Linked DNA regions of Homo sapiens: region 1 is linked to region 2. Evidence: promoter capture Hi-C in 16 types of primary human blood cells and fetal thymus (Javierre and others, 2016). All regions are on one chromosome and are shown on one strand. The core of a region is centred on a gene start or on the middle of the fragment in contact, and the rest is flanking DNA. Distances in the headings are between cores, read along the strand shown. Region 1 overlaps PARP6 (poly(ADP-ribose) polymerase family member 6). Region 2 holds the start of GRAMD2A (GRAM domain containing 2A).

The links. The method cuts DNA at HindIII sites, captures the fragments that hold promoters and counts their contacts. A CHiCAGO score of 5 or more calls a contact.
Region 1: a contact is called between a fragment that was not itself captured here and the fragment with the promoter of GRAMD2A in region 2, in 2 of 17 cell types (monocytes and megakaryocytes). The highest score is 5.9, in monocytes.

What each region holds. Positions count from the first base shown.
Region 1 is chr15:72,263,656-72,269,999 of GRCh38, forward strand. It overlaps PARP6 (poly(ADP-ribose) polymerase family member 6), which reads right to left. Exons shown (of 24, transcript NM_001323532.2): 3 at 3,820-4,016; 4 at 3,090-3,167; 5 at 2,242-2,336; 6 at 1,758-1,818; 7 at 1,426-1,516; 8 at 900-966. The coding sequence starts at 3,822. Among named protein-coding and RNA genes, the nearest start is that of PARP6, 5.7 kb to the right of the region's middle. The HindIII fragment of the contact is 4,663 bases long and covers 732-5,394 here.
Region 2 is chr15:72,195,500-72,201,583 of GRCh38, forward strand. It overlaps GRAMD2A (GRAM domain containing 2A), which reads right to left and starts at 2,288. Exons shown (of 12, transcript NM_001012642.3): 1 at 2,232-2,288. The coding sequence starts at 2,272. PKM (pyruvate kinase M1/2) reads right to left here. Exons shown (of 11, transcript NM_002654.6): 10 at 4,975-5,156; 11 at 3,530-4,257. The coding sequence ends at 4,151. RefSeq lists an enhancer at 1,726-1,905 and a silencer at 2,016-2,435. The HindIII fragment of the contact is 8,362 bases long and covers 106-6,084 here.

The DNA.
Region 1 (6,344 bases), core at 1,813-4,312, 69 kb after region 2:
GACTAAGCCCCTGCAAATGTTATTCACCCTCAGAATCTGTCTACATGGACAACTCTTATCCATCCTTGAAAATTACTAATCATTGGCTGGGTGCGGTGGCTCACACCTGTAATCTCAGCACTTTGGGAGGCTGAGGCAGGTGGATCACTTGAGGCCAGGAGTTTGGGACCAACCTGGCCAACATGGAGAAACCCCCATCTCTACTAAAAATACAAAAATTAGCCGGGCATGGTGGTGGGTGACTGTAATCCCAGCTACTTAGGAGGCTGAGGCACAGGAATCACTTGAACTCAGGAGGCAGAAGTTGCAGTGAGCCAAGATCATGCCACTGCACTCCAGCCTGGGTGAGAGCAAGACTCTGTCTCCAAAAAAAAAAAAAAAAGGAAATTATTAATCATCACCCTTTCAACAGACTGAGTCACTCTTCAGTGTCCTTTCTAAACCTTACATATTCACCTGTATTAGAATATGTATCCAGTGGACTCTATTTGAAACTTCACTGAGAGTGGAAAATATGCTTCATTTCTTTGCATACCAAATACCTAGCTTAATGCTCAACACATTCAATAAACTAGAGTTCCTAGAGACTTACTCTGAAGAAACCACTAGAGAAATATGAATAGCATGACTCTGATTTCAGGGTAGTAAAAATGCTAAGTAGTGATGAGCCTCTTTTATCTCTAGAAAGTCTCAGCTTCTGACACCCAAGAACCACATACTCTCTCTCCACAAGCTTAAATCTGGCTCCCTAAATTTATTTTAGCTTTTCCTGGGCATATTTCAGAAAGACATTTTTGGAAGGGGGCATTCCATCCAAGGCTCTGCCTGTCCATCCATATATTTCCACCTCTCTCTCCTTCCTTCACATGTCCATGACCAGAAAAGACCAAAGTTCTTACTTTTTCAACTGAAGACCCAGCCCAAATCCTTCCTTATTTGATGGCTGGAAAACCTCAATGGATGGTTCTGCAAAGAGAAGAGAAGGCTACTAGTAAGTACATATCTCTTGTCTTCCTGGAGTCCAAAGCTCAGTGGAATAGCTTCCATACATTCTAAAGATCATAGCTGCTGGGTACTCTAAACAGTAACGGTGGAAGAAAAAAAACATCTGAGGGAGAGGGCAGATTCTCGAAGCTGTCATATGAATCTGAAATATCCTCAGGAGGATGTTGAGAAAAGGAGGAGAAAGAAATTTTATCTTGGAACCAGAGAAAACAATGTCATTAGGCAAGAAGGCCTTTAGGGAATGGTTATTAGGTGACAGGGGATGAAGATACCAATTACAGGGGACTAAAAAGCCCCTACCAATAGCCTGCAGATTGAGCCCAAGGACCTTGTTCCTAATTTTTTTCTACCTCAGTTAACTTAGGGCTTTGGATTAGACCACACTCAGACCACCCACTTGCCCAAAGTCACTGCCTTTACCTGGTCCATCTAGGTACTGGGAGAGAGAAAATCGCAGCCTCAACACAATAGGTTCTGTCCGGAGGACCTTCCAGGCTGTAGAGACTTCCTCCTAAAAGAAGAAGGGAAATAGTTTCCAGTTTAGCAACATAGACGAATGGACCTGAAATTTCCCCTATATGACACACACATGCACATGACAGTACACACCACTGTCTGCTGATGGTCTAGGAAAGACAGAGATGAAGAATATGTGCTCCAAATACAGCACTCGGGAACAAGACTCCTGGCCTACATGACAAATTCCACAAGTCCAGCTAGACATGTTGTTGGCAGGTACTAGCCCCACTTACATCGAGGAAGCTGATGTTGATGTGGAGGTCAATGTCCACGTCATCGATAGTTCCATATTCTCTATAGAGATACAGGTGACAACAGGTGAGACTCATTAAGGGAGAAAGAAGGGAATAGAAACTGAGTTGGAAAGAGAACTGAGCCTGGGGACAGGGGAAAGGGAAGAGTGGATGACAGTTTTGTACCTAGGGTCTTAGCTATAGCCTTACACCACTTACCTGATCAGGATCTACTTCCAGGCCAAAAGCATTTCTTACCTGAAAGGTGAAACTACTGGCCCAGAGGGGTCTAGGATAAGAGGGAATTCCTAAGAAAAGTGGCCTTACTCTCTACTCTCAGCCAAGCTCATTTATTCTGAGCATTTTCTATCATTAAGTTCATAATTTATCCCACTATCATACCATAAAAAGAAAAACCTCTAGCCTTTTAACAACTCAGAAAGAAGTGACTTGCTCCCCTGCCACCCCTGAAGTAGAGTCCCACCTGATGGATACAGAGTTCTCACTGTAGATCTCCTTCACGGCTTCAATGTCTGCATCAAGCTGTGGGTGTCGATACAGGTCAGCTGCACAGCTCCCCTGAGATAGCAGCAAAAATGGTGGTGGAGAGAGGTGGAAAAAGACGAGGGAAAGAGAGAGATAATAAAAAGAATATGAAAAGACACCAGGAACAGGAGAAATCAGACAGCAGTATAGGGGAAGTAAAAGCCACTTATGTGAAGGGGTTCTCAGTGGTGACCCTAGCAAGGGATTTCATTAACAGAGGTCTCCATCTCATCATGACTTTAAAAAGGTTCAGCAGACCAAATGTAGGCTTTTGCTTGGAGTTCACTTCCTTAAATCTCCAGCTTTTCTCTCAGACCTTGACCAGGATACCTTCTATGACAACTCAGAACAGGCTGAAGAGTTACAGGTTTCCTAAGATTGGTTCTAAGTGAAGAGCATTCTGAGAGTCTGGGTACTTCTGCTCAGGACTGTGCCCTGGGTAGTGATGGCATTAAGCAAACGCTGGCAGAGTAATCTTTTAAGATGTGACCCTAATGAATGAAACTACCCCCACTGGCTAGTGTTATAAAAGTCAGAAAATAATTATGTCTAATTAAGATATGGGTAGTCTCCACATACAGAGGATGTAGTTTACTCTGGAACAGGTATGACTCCAAAGAAAGAGCAAGGGCACGGGATCAGCTCTGACAAGACCATGCTCAGACCACATCAACATTATAACCTCATCTCATCTGTGCTCCAGAACCTCTTTCACTCCTGATGTATCCAAAAAGCAGCACATATCTAGACCATCCAACACGGGGGTCTTGGGAGATGTAACCTCACCTGAACGCCATAGAGAAATTCCTCTGATTCATTATCTCCCTCCGAGTCGTCATCATTCCAGAACTGGCCTTTGATGTCCTAGTGGTGAGAAATAAGGATATCATGCTTTGTTAGGTCCCTATTATCCCATGGAAAGGCGTGGGATGATATGGTGAGGAACAGATTCCCACAAAGATTGGGAAATATAGAATAACTGAAGCCCTGATCCCTTTACACCTTTCATGTCACCCTTTGTGAGAGTCTCAGTCTCTTCCTGATATGATCATATCCATAAACTAGCTCTTAGTGGGACAGAGGAAAACATCTAGGGAATTTTGGCCTTCTGAAGTCTCAGTATGATGACTGAGAGGCTCTGGTAGCCAGTAGGAAAGAAATGCAAATGACTTCAATGTCAAGGTTGACTCCTAAGCATATCTGGGTTCCAGTACAAGCTGGCCTCTTCCAGGATCATTACCTAAGACAGTTCCCAAGCACACCTAAACTCTCTTGTCTCATTATTTTCTTTCTATCCTTTAAAGTACTTAACTCTCCTCTCCCTCCCCAAGAAAACCCACTACACAAACACACCAAGTAATACTGTTTCTGTGCCCCTTCCCTTTCCTTTAACTTCAAATAGCCACTCTATCTTCCAAAAGGGTAGAAGGGAAAATACCAAGAAAGGGTGAGATCTGCACTTTGTCTCCTCTACCCTTTGAACAATCAGTTGGAGAGGTGGGCAGTCAGTTCTCACCATTGGGTCAGTGGGTCACACACACTCTCAGGTCAGTGCTAGGCAGCACCCCTCCATACCACTAGCCGAACCAAGGCCAACGAGATGGGCATTTAGGAGACCACAAAGGGAGACAAGGTAGGGCACGATGTCAGGGACAACTGGTGATCTGTTGGGGATGGCAGGCTCTGCTGTTGCGGTGGTAACAAGTCACTGTCCTGTGGAAAGTAGATAATAATGGGTTTCATCACCACTTAATAGCTGGGTGGTGTATATATACAGGCACACGTATTTATCAATACACTTTTTTTTTTTGAGACAGAGTTTCGCTCTTGTCGCCCAGGCTGGAGTGCAATGGCGCGATCTTGGCTCACTGCAACCTCCGCCTCCTGGGTTCAAGTAATTCTCATGCCTCAGCCTCCCAAGTAGCTGGAATTACAGGTGCCTGCTGCCACGCCCAGCTAATTTTAATATTTTCAGTAGAGATGGGGTTTCACCACATTGGCCAGGCTGGTCTCGAACTCCCGACTTCAGGTGACCTACCGGCCTCGGCCTCCCAAATTGCTGGGAATACAGGCGTGAGCCATTGCACCTGGCTATTAATACACTTTTATTATACATACAGATACTTGCATATAAAAAGACATGCTTGCGTGCATATACATGCACACTTGCACATGCAGTTCTTTATAGATAATGAAACACAAAAGCACTATATGCAAGATACTGCTGTTCTACTTAAACTGGAGAGCTGGGATTAGAGCAAGATCCTGCTCTAGCTCATAATGTTACAACTCCTAAAGCCAAAAGTGATGGTGGCAGGACAAGATGCTTATGTTTACTCTGTCAGTTAATTCTTCAGAGTACCAACTCACACCAGAGTTAAGATTCAGAATCGGATTATTTCTGGACTCTTTATTCTTAGTTATTTCTCCATATTAGCCAGTATCTCTCTTTAAACATCAGTATTACTAGCTATTATACGGCAACAATAGCTAACTTAAAAAGTCCTCAACGGCCAGATCACCTGAGGTCAGGAGTTCAAGACCAGCCTGACCAATGGGGTGAAACCCCGTCTCTACCAAAAATACAAACTTAGCTGGGTGTGGTGGCGTGCGCTTACGATCCCAGCTACTCAGGAGGCTGAGGCAGGAGAATCGCTTGAATCCGGGAGGCGGAGATTGCAGTGAGCCTAGATCACGCCACTGCACTCCAGCCTGGACAGTAAGAGCAAAAACTCCATCTCAAAATAAAAAGTCCTCAACAACACTGAACATCTTTTGGCAGTTATGGTCTCAGTTGTCATTGCCAAAATAATGCCCTAAAGTCATCTTGGAACCTGCTTCCCAAAGAAAAATGCAATAATTATCCCAAAAATTGCTTAGAAAAACTTTTACTTAACCCAGAGCCCTTTCATACACAATTCCCTGCTCGCTTCTAATCCCACAGACTCCTAATCCTATACCAGCAACTTTTAGCTCCATTAAAACCTCCACATATAGCAGAAAAACAAAACAAAACAAAAAACTCATCTGTGAAATTATGAAGGCTTTAATGGCTGAAGATGGCAAATCTACCCTAAAAGCAGGCTAAAAAAGCTTTCTGTTGCTCTCTAGACCAGCAAGTCACTGGCTTTGCACACATCGCAGCTGAAGCTACTCCAACCTCAAACAGAGGTGTTCTTGGTCTCTAACACAGTTCTTCTTCTTCTTCTTTTTTTGTTTTCTGACAGAGTTTCGCTGTGTCGCCCAGGCTGGAGTGCAATGGTGCGATCTCGGCTCACTGCAACCTCTGCCTCCCGGGTTCAAGCAATTCTCCTGTCTCAGCCTCCCACGTAGCTGGGATTATAGGCGCCCGCCACCATGCCCAGCTAATTTTTGTATTTTTAGTAGAGACGGGGTTTCACCAGGTTGGCCAGGCTGGTCTCGAACTCCTGACCTCAGGTGATCCACCCGCCTCGGCCTCCCAAAGTGTTGGGATTACAGATGTGAGCCACTGTGCCTGGCAGGTCTCTAATACAGTTCTACTGAATGTCAGGTTTCCAGATTAGTGATTCTCTGACTGGGGTTGGTGGACCTACAGCATCAGTATCATCTAGGAACTTGTTAGAAATGCAAATTCTCAGACTCCTCCTAAGACCTACTGAATTAGAAACTCCAGAAATGGCCAGGCACTGAGGCTCATGCCTGTAATCCTAGCACTTTGTGAGGCCCAGGTGGGCAGGACACCTGAGGTCAGGAGTTCGAGACCAGCATGGCCAACATGGTGAAACTCCTTCTCCACTAAAATAAAAACATTAGCAAGGCATGGTGGTGCACGCCTGTAATCCCAGCTACTCAGGAGGCTGAGGCAGGAGAATCACTTGACCTACGGAGGCAGAGGTTGCAGTGAGCCAAGACTGCGCCATTGCACTCCAGCCTGGGGGGCAACAGCAAAACTCTGTCTCAAAAAAAAAAAAAAAAAAAGAAAAAGAAAAAAAGAAATTCCAGAAATTGGACCCAGTAATCTGTGTTTTAACACACGCTCCAAGTTGTTCTGATGCATAA
Region 2 (6,084 bases), core at 1,038-3,537:
AGCTGGCAGCAACCCACCTTGGGTACTGCCGACCTCAACCTCAGGGGGTCACGGGAGCACCCTAGGTGGATGAATTAGCATACAAGTCTCTCTGGTCTGTGCCAAAGCTTTGGGGCCTTGCTAAATTTAGAAATTTGAGGCCAGGTGCAGTGGCTCACACCTGTAATCCCAGCACTTTGAGAGGCTGAGGTGAGCAGCTCACCTGAGGTCGAGAGTTGGAGACCAGCCTGACCAACATGGAGAAACCCCGTCTCTACTAAAAAATACAAAATTAGCCGGGTGTGGTGGCGCATGCCTGTAATCCCACCTACTCGGGAGGCTGAGGCAGGAGAATCACTTGAACCCAGGAGGCGGAGACTGCAGTGAGCCGAGATCACGCCATTGCACTCCAGCCTGGGTAACAAGAGCAAAACTCCGTCTCAAAAAAAAAGAAAGAAATTTGAAAGCAGCCAGCAACATCAAGGCACAGATGGAGCTTGAGCTACCCTCTTCAGGCTATTCAGAAAATTCTCCCAAGGGGAAGTTGGGAAGGAGAACTTCTATTTGGCCCCAGCCTAAACTCTCCTGGAAGCTCGATGGGGCCTCTGTCAGCTTTCCCCTCTGGACCTGCCCATTTGTCCCAGAGGTGCCCACTGAGGCTACCTCAATGCCTGTCAAACTAAAACTTAAACCTAAGAGTGTCTGCAGCATGGTCTCCAGCCAGCCTGATCAGAAGACTATGGAGGGGGCCAGGCACGTGGCTCACACCTGTAGTCCCTGTAATGCTAGCACTTTGGGAGGCTGAGGTGGGTGGATCACCTGAGGTCAGGAGTTCAAGACCAGCCTGGCCAACATGGTGAAACCCCATCTCTACTAAAAATACAAAAATTAGCTGGGCGTGGTGGTGGGCACCTGTAATCCCAGCTACTCGGGAGGCTGAGGCAGGAGGATCACTTGAACCTGGGAGGCAGAGGTTGCAGTGAGCCAAGATCCCACCACGGCACTCCAGCCTGGGTGACAGAGTGAAACTGTCTCAGAAAAAAAAAAAAGAAAAAAGAAGGAGGGGCATACTGACTCCTCACTGAAGAATGGGATAGACACCCTCTATTCTACCTCTCCCAGCAAGGCCATAAGTCTTTGCTCTGAAAGGAGCCAGACTTTAGAGCCGGCTACAGGTGGACATGGGGTGAAGACATCAGGTTGCGAGGGTACCCTCTCTCGTTCCCTAGGAGCCTGGCCCCTGCAAGGAGGGGCACCTTTAAACAATCAAGCATAGTGAGTGGGGCGGCAAGCAGAGCAGAGACACAGACGACAGCGGGGTGGAGCCCCACCAGTCCCTCTGAGTATAAGGCAGAGGGAGTCCCGCTGGGGTCCACATCCCTGTGTGTCTCGGGCTGATTTGGACACAAGGCTCACACATTCATCCTACCTGCCCCAGTGCTAGCTGGCCGAGGATGCCAGGCTGTACCCGACCTTAGGCTGTGCGGCTTGGAACCTGGACCGGGGCAGGAATTGACAGGTTCCCCCAAACAATGTCACTCCCAGGACCCTAAGACCTCAAGCAGCAGAAACCACAATTCTGGATGTTACGTGCAGCGCCAGCTCCTGTCTGCCCTGCCTCCTTATCCCTTTCTCCCAGGGCGACTTTGGACCAGGTCTCGAGGCCGGGAGACCGGCCCCAGCCCGCCCGACCGGGATGGGCCTGGCGCCCGGGGGAGGCCGCGTCGTGCTGAGACAGCTCCGAGCTGCCTCCCCGCAGCCGCGGGCCGCTACAATACGGATTCGGCGGCGAGAGGAAACAGTCTGGCCCTCCAGGGGACGCAGGGAAATCCAACCTTTGGGTCGGGGGCAATTAGGACTGGGAGTCGATACCGCGGGCAACGAATGATGAATGAATAAATGAAAGGATGAACAGAGTGGCGAGGCGGAGATGGGCCATGCGGGGCGTCCCGAGGAGGGTGCCCTTCCTTGCCCCGATGCTGCCGGGACCGTCCCTCATCCCCCAGGTCGCAGCAGACTCAGCCAAGACACCCGGTCCTAGTGCGAACACCTCGCGGGCCCCGGGAGACGCCTGGGCGCGCGGTGCAGCTCTGGCCCGGAGCCCGCATTCCGGCGGCCGGGAAGTGCCTGCCCCGTGGGCAGAACGCGCCGAGTTGCCGCGGCCCCAGGAGCCGTCCTGCCCCGCGCGGCAGCAGCCCCTCGCGGCGGCCTCCGGAACCCCCGAGACCGGCCCCCGGGCCGCAACCCCTTACCCGCCCTCCTCGGTGGCCTCGCTCCGGCTTAAAGCGGTCATCCCGGCGCCTGCACCCAGCGCCCCGACCGCGCGCCGGGACCCAGCGCCCGCCGGACCCCGCCCGCCCCGTCGAGAGCCCGCCCCGCCCGCCCGCCCATTGGCGGGTCGCGCGGGCCGGGCACAGCCCATTGGCCGTTCCTCCCCCTCATTCCCCAGCTTCCCCAGCTTCTCTCCTTCCCCACCTTCCCCAGGTGGGGCTCCAAGCTCTGAGCAGATCCTAGCGCTCGGTTCCCCGGACTGGGAGGTCCCGGAGGCCAGGGCCTGGCGCGGCACCTCCTGTCCCTCACGTCGAGGGTATTGTGTCCCCTCTGGACGCTTCTGTCGTCCTAGTCTTGCGGCTTGGGTCCCTCTGCAGGAACCAATTCCGGCCCCTCTCCAACCTAACCCTTCCCAACATAGAGCTCCGGATAAGTTTCAATTTTACCGTCAGTGGGGAACACCAAAGGGGATATTGAACACCATGGTCTGACAGCCAAGTCACCACCACGAACCCGGGAGCCAGGATGCTCCCACGCACTTTTGCCGGAGTTAACATTGCAGTTTCTCCAAGGAAATACACTTTTGGAGGAGTCTGCAAAGGGGCTGAAGGTGGACACAAATCAAAGGCAGGGAAGCAGAGGCACGTGCGCTCAGTGTGACAATGAGCTTTTGCCTGGCCTGCAGGCCCTTTCCTCTTCCATCCCCACCAGGACACTTGGTCCTTGGGAGTGTGGTCAGGGGAGAGGAAAAGCGCAGGCCAGATTTGGTCCCATTCCCAACTCTCTCCCCCAGCCCTTTGGCACTACAGCATCATGGTGGGAGGGCACCAGCAAACAGGAGGGGTCCCAAGGGGAGCCTAGGTCCACAACTGAGGACCTGGGAGCCAAACCCAGTCTCAGGCGCCCAGAGCTGACTCCTCCTACAGCCCCCATAAGGGATACGCTAATGCAGGAAGACCAAAGTGGAAGAACCATGGCCAAGGCCACTTTGCAATTTGGGTTTATCTACCAGAGTGGGAGGGAGGCCTTGTCCCTGCTCTTTCCCATCTTCGGTTCACGTAAGCCATTAAAGTCTCCCCGCAGCACTGAAGGGGGCAACCTGTAACCCTAAGATAGTAAGCTACTGCTTTCCCAGCGCCTCTGCACCAGGAGGTGGGCAGGATGGCAGGTGACACCACCATAGCTCCCACTGCGGGGCACGAGGCTGCAGCCATTCCCAGCCTGCTCAGAGGGCAGGGTTCAACCACCTCCCCCTCCCCAGCAGAAAAGAGAGGAAACAGGTGCTTCAGCTGTTGTTTATTGACATACAGGTAGGCTCTATAGCAACAGGCCTGGAGGTGCTGCAGTAGTGGGGGAAAATGGAAGGTGGAGGGTGGAGTGTTTGCTGCAGGACAGCTGAGTGGAGGGTGGGGACAGGTGCAAACTGGAGAGGCCTAGAGAGCTAGAGAAGCAAGTAAGGGCCAGGGCCAGAGTCGGCTTCAATGGAACAACAGCCCAGTGCCCTAAGGCCCCTAACTCTTGCTGGCTGTTTCTTGACCCCAAGCCAGGGTTGGGAGTCCTCTGGGCATCCATTTTTTCTAAAGGAACTGGACAGAGTACACACAGGAAAGGAAGCTGTCACCCTCTTGCCATCTGGCTCCAGGGGCCTCCAGTCCAGCATTCCTCCTTCTTCCCTTGATTGGGTGGGGCCACATGATGGGCAGCCAGGCTCTGGGCTGTCCCACTAGAGCAGGCTGCAAACACAGCCATGTTTCAGTGAGGCGTTGATCTTCTTCCCTGGTGTCCCAACCTACCAGTGCCACGTTACAGCCCAGAGTGAGTTCTACAAGCGTTGCTGGCCTAATGGATGGGCTGGGGGAAGGGGGTGGGACAGGGGCTGGAGGAGGGGCTCTGGGGTCCATCACGGCACAGGAACAACACGCATGGTGTTGGTGAAGCCGGAGCCAGGGCGCCATCCGGTCAGCACAATGACCACATCTCCCTTCTTGAAGAAGCCTCGGGCCTTGCCTGGAGGAAGAGAAGGGAGGTTGGTGAGTAAAAGCCAAGCCAGGCAGGTTTGCACCTGGGCAGCTGCCCCATAGCCTGAGTACTGAACTAGGCTGGCTGACCACTACTTCCTCACACCACAAGGTGGCACCAAACTCACAGCCCAGGCAAACAGGAGGAAGGCCCTGAAATGTCCTTATCACTCAGATGGCAGGGTTGGCAGGGACCTTTGGACATCATTCACTATCCTGGAGAGGGTGCAAAGCCTTGCCCAGGGTCAGAGCTAGCTGCTTCCTGTCATCTGATGATACCCTACCTTATACAGGGACAATGGCCACATCAGTACGTAATCTGTGTATGCCACCCCACAGCACAGGAGCTGTGGCCAATTTTATTTAAAAAAAAAACAAAAAACAAAAAAAACTCTCAGTAATGAGCAGATGCCAAAAAATGGACAATTTTGCTTTGAGCCCCAGACTAGAAGAGAAGAGGAACTGAATTGCTCAGCCCTACAACTCAAAGGACCCTTTTCCCTCCTGGCTCAGCTTAGGACTTCGGAGAATGAGAGATTCAGAATGAACATTCCCAATAAGGGAGAGGAACAGTCGCTGGGCCTTTTGCCCCACTAAGGTCTGTGTGTTCCCCTTTCTATTCCCCAAACTTTCGGGGTCCCACAGAAGCCAATGCTCAAGCATCCCCAAGCTCCTCTAGGCTCTAGCCCCTGCTCCAGCCACGTACCAACATTCATGGCAAAGTTCACCCGGAGGTCCACGTCCTCAGCCCAGGCCTCCTGGACTGGGTCCTTGCACAGCACAGGGAAGATGCCACGGTACAGGTGGGCCTGACGAGCTGTCTGGGGATTCCGGGTCACAGCAATGATGGGGGCACGTGGGCGGTATCTGGCCACCTGGTGAGCAGACCTGAGATGGGATGGGGGACATACAGAAGAGACCATTACACGAGGCCCCAGGAAGTACCCTCAGGGCGTTCAAACAGCTCACCCTCTCATCCAGCTCACTGAGGGCTCTGGCCTCTTCAACATCTGCTCCCTAGGACCCCTCCCGAGGCTCGGGCAGCCCCTCATCCTATATCCCCCACAGCATGCTAGGTTACCATTTGCCCTCTACCCCCATTCCACAGGCCAAGGGCTCAGGATCACCTTGACCCAGCAAGATCAGCCTCACCCACTTACCCCACACAGCCCATGGTTGGCAGAACCCCTCCTACACCCTGAACTCTGACACAGAGAGGCAGCCCTGGCCCAATGTCACCAGCACCCATTCCTCTCGCTGCCAATGACAGTGACAAGCCAAGCAGCACGTGACTAGCACCTGACTCTTGACATCTGCAAGGAGCAGTAGCAGAGCTGACCAGCCCCCTGGGAATCAACATCAGGCTTCTCTACTTTTGTGCCCTCTCCCTGCCCCACATGGCCCCTAGCTCCTGAAACAGTCCCAGCAACTGGGCTATAAAGGCCCAGAATCAAATCTGAGTATCTAGATGAGGCTTAGAAATCTAGGTGCTACTCAGCAGGCAAGAACAGGAAATGGGAGTGTTGCTGCAGGAGCAGCTCTGCCTGCCAAAGCTCCTTTGGAAGGCAGGGGACCCTTCTAAAGCCCCTCTGCCAGGCACTTTCTTGAACACTGACACTGCACACTTGTAGCTGCAGCTGTGTCTCAGGAGCTGGGGAGGGGCACCAGAAGGGAAGTTATGAGGACACTCAACAGGTGTCAGGGAAACTTAAGCCACATCACAGCAGAGAAGTCCCTGCACTTCACGCTTGGCCTCTATGCAAGGCCTTCAGAGGGAAGCAATTGCTGAAGCCAGGACCAGCTGAGTGAAACCCCA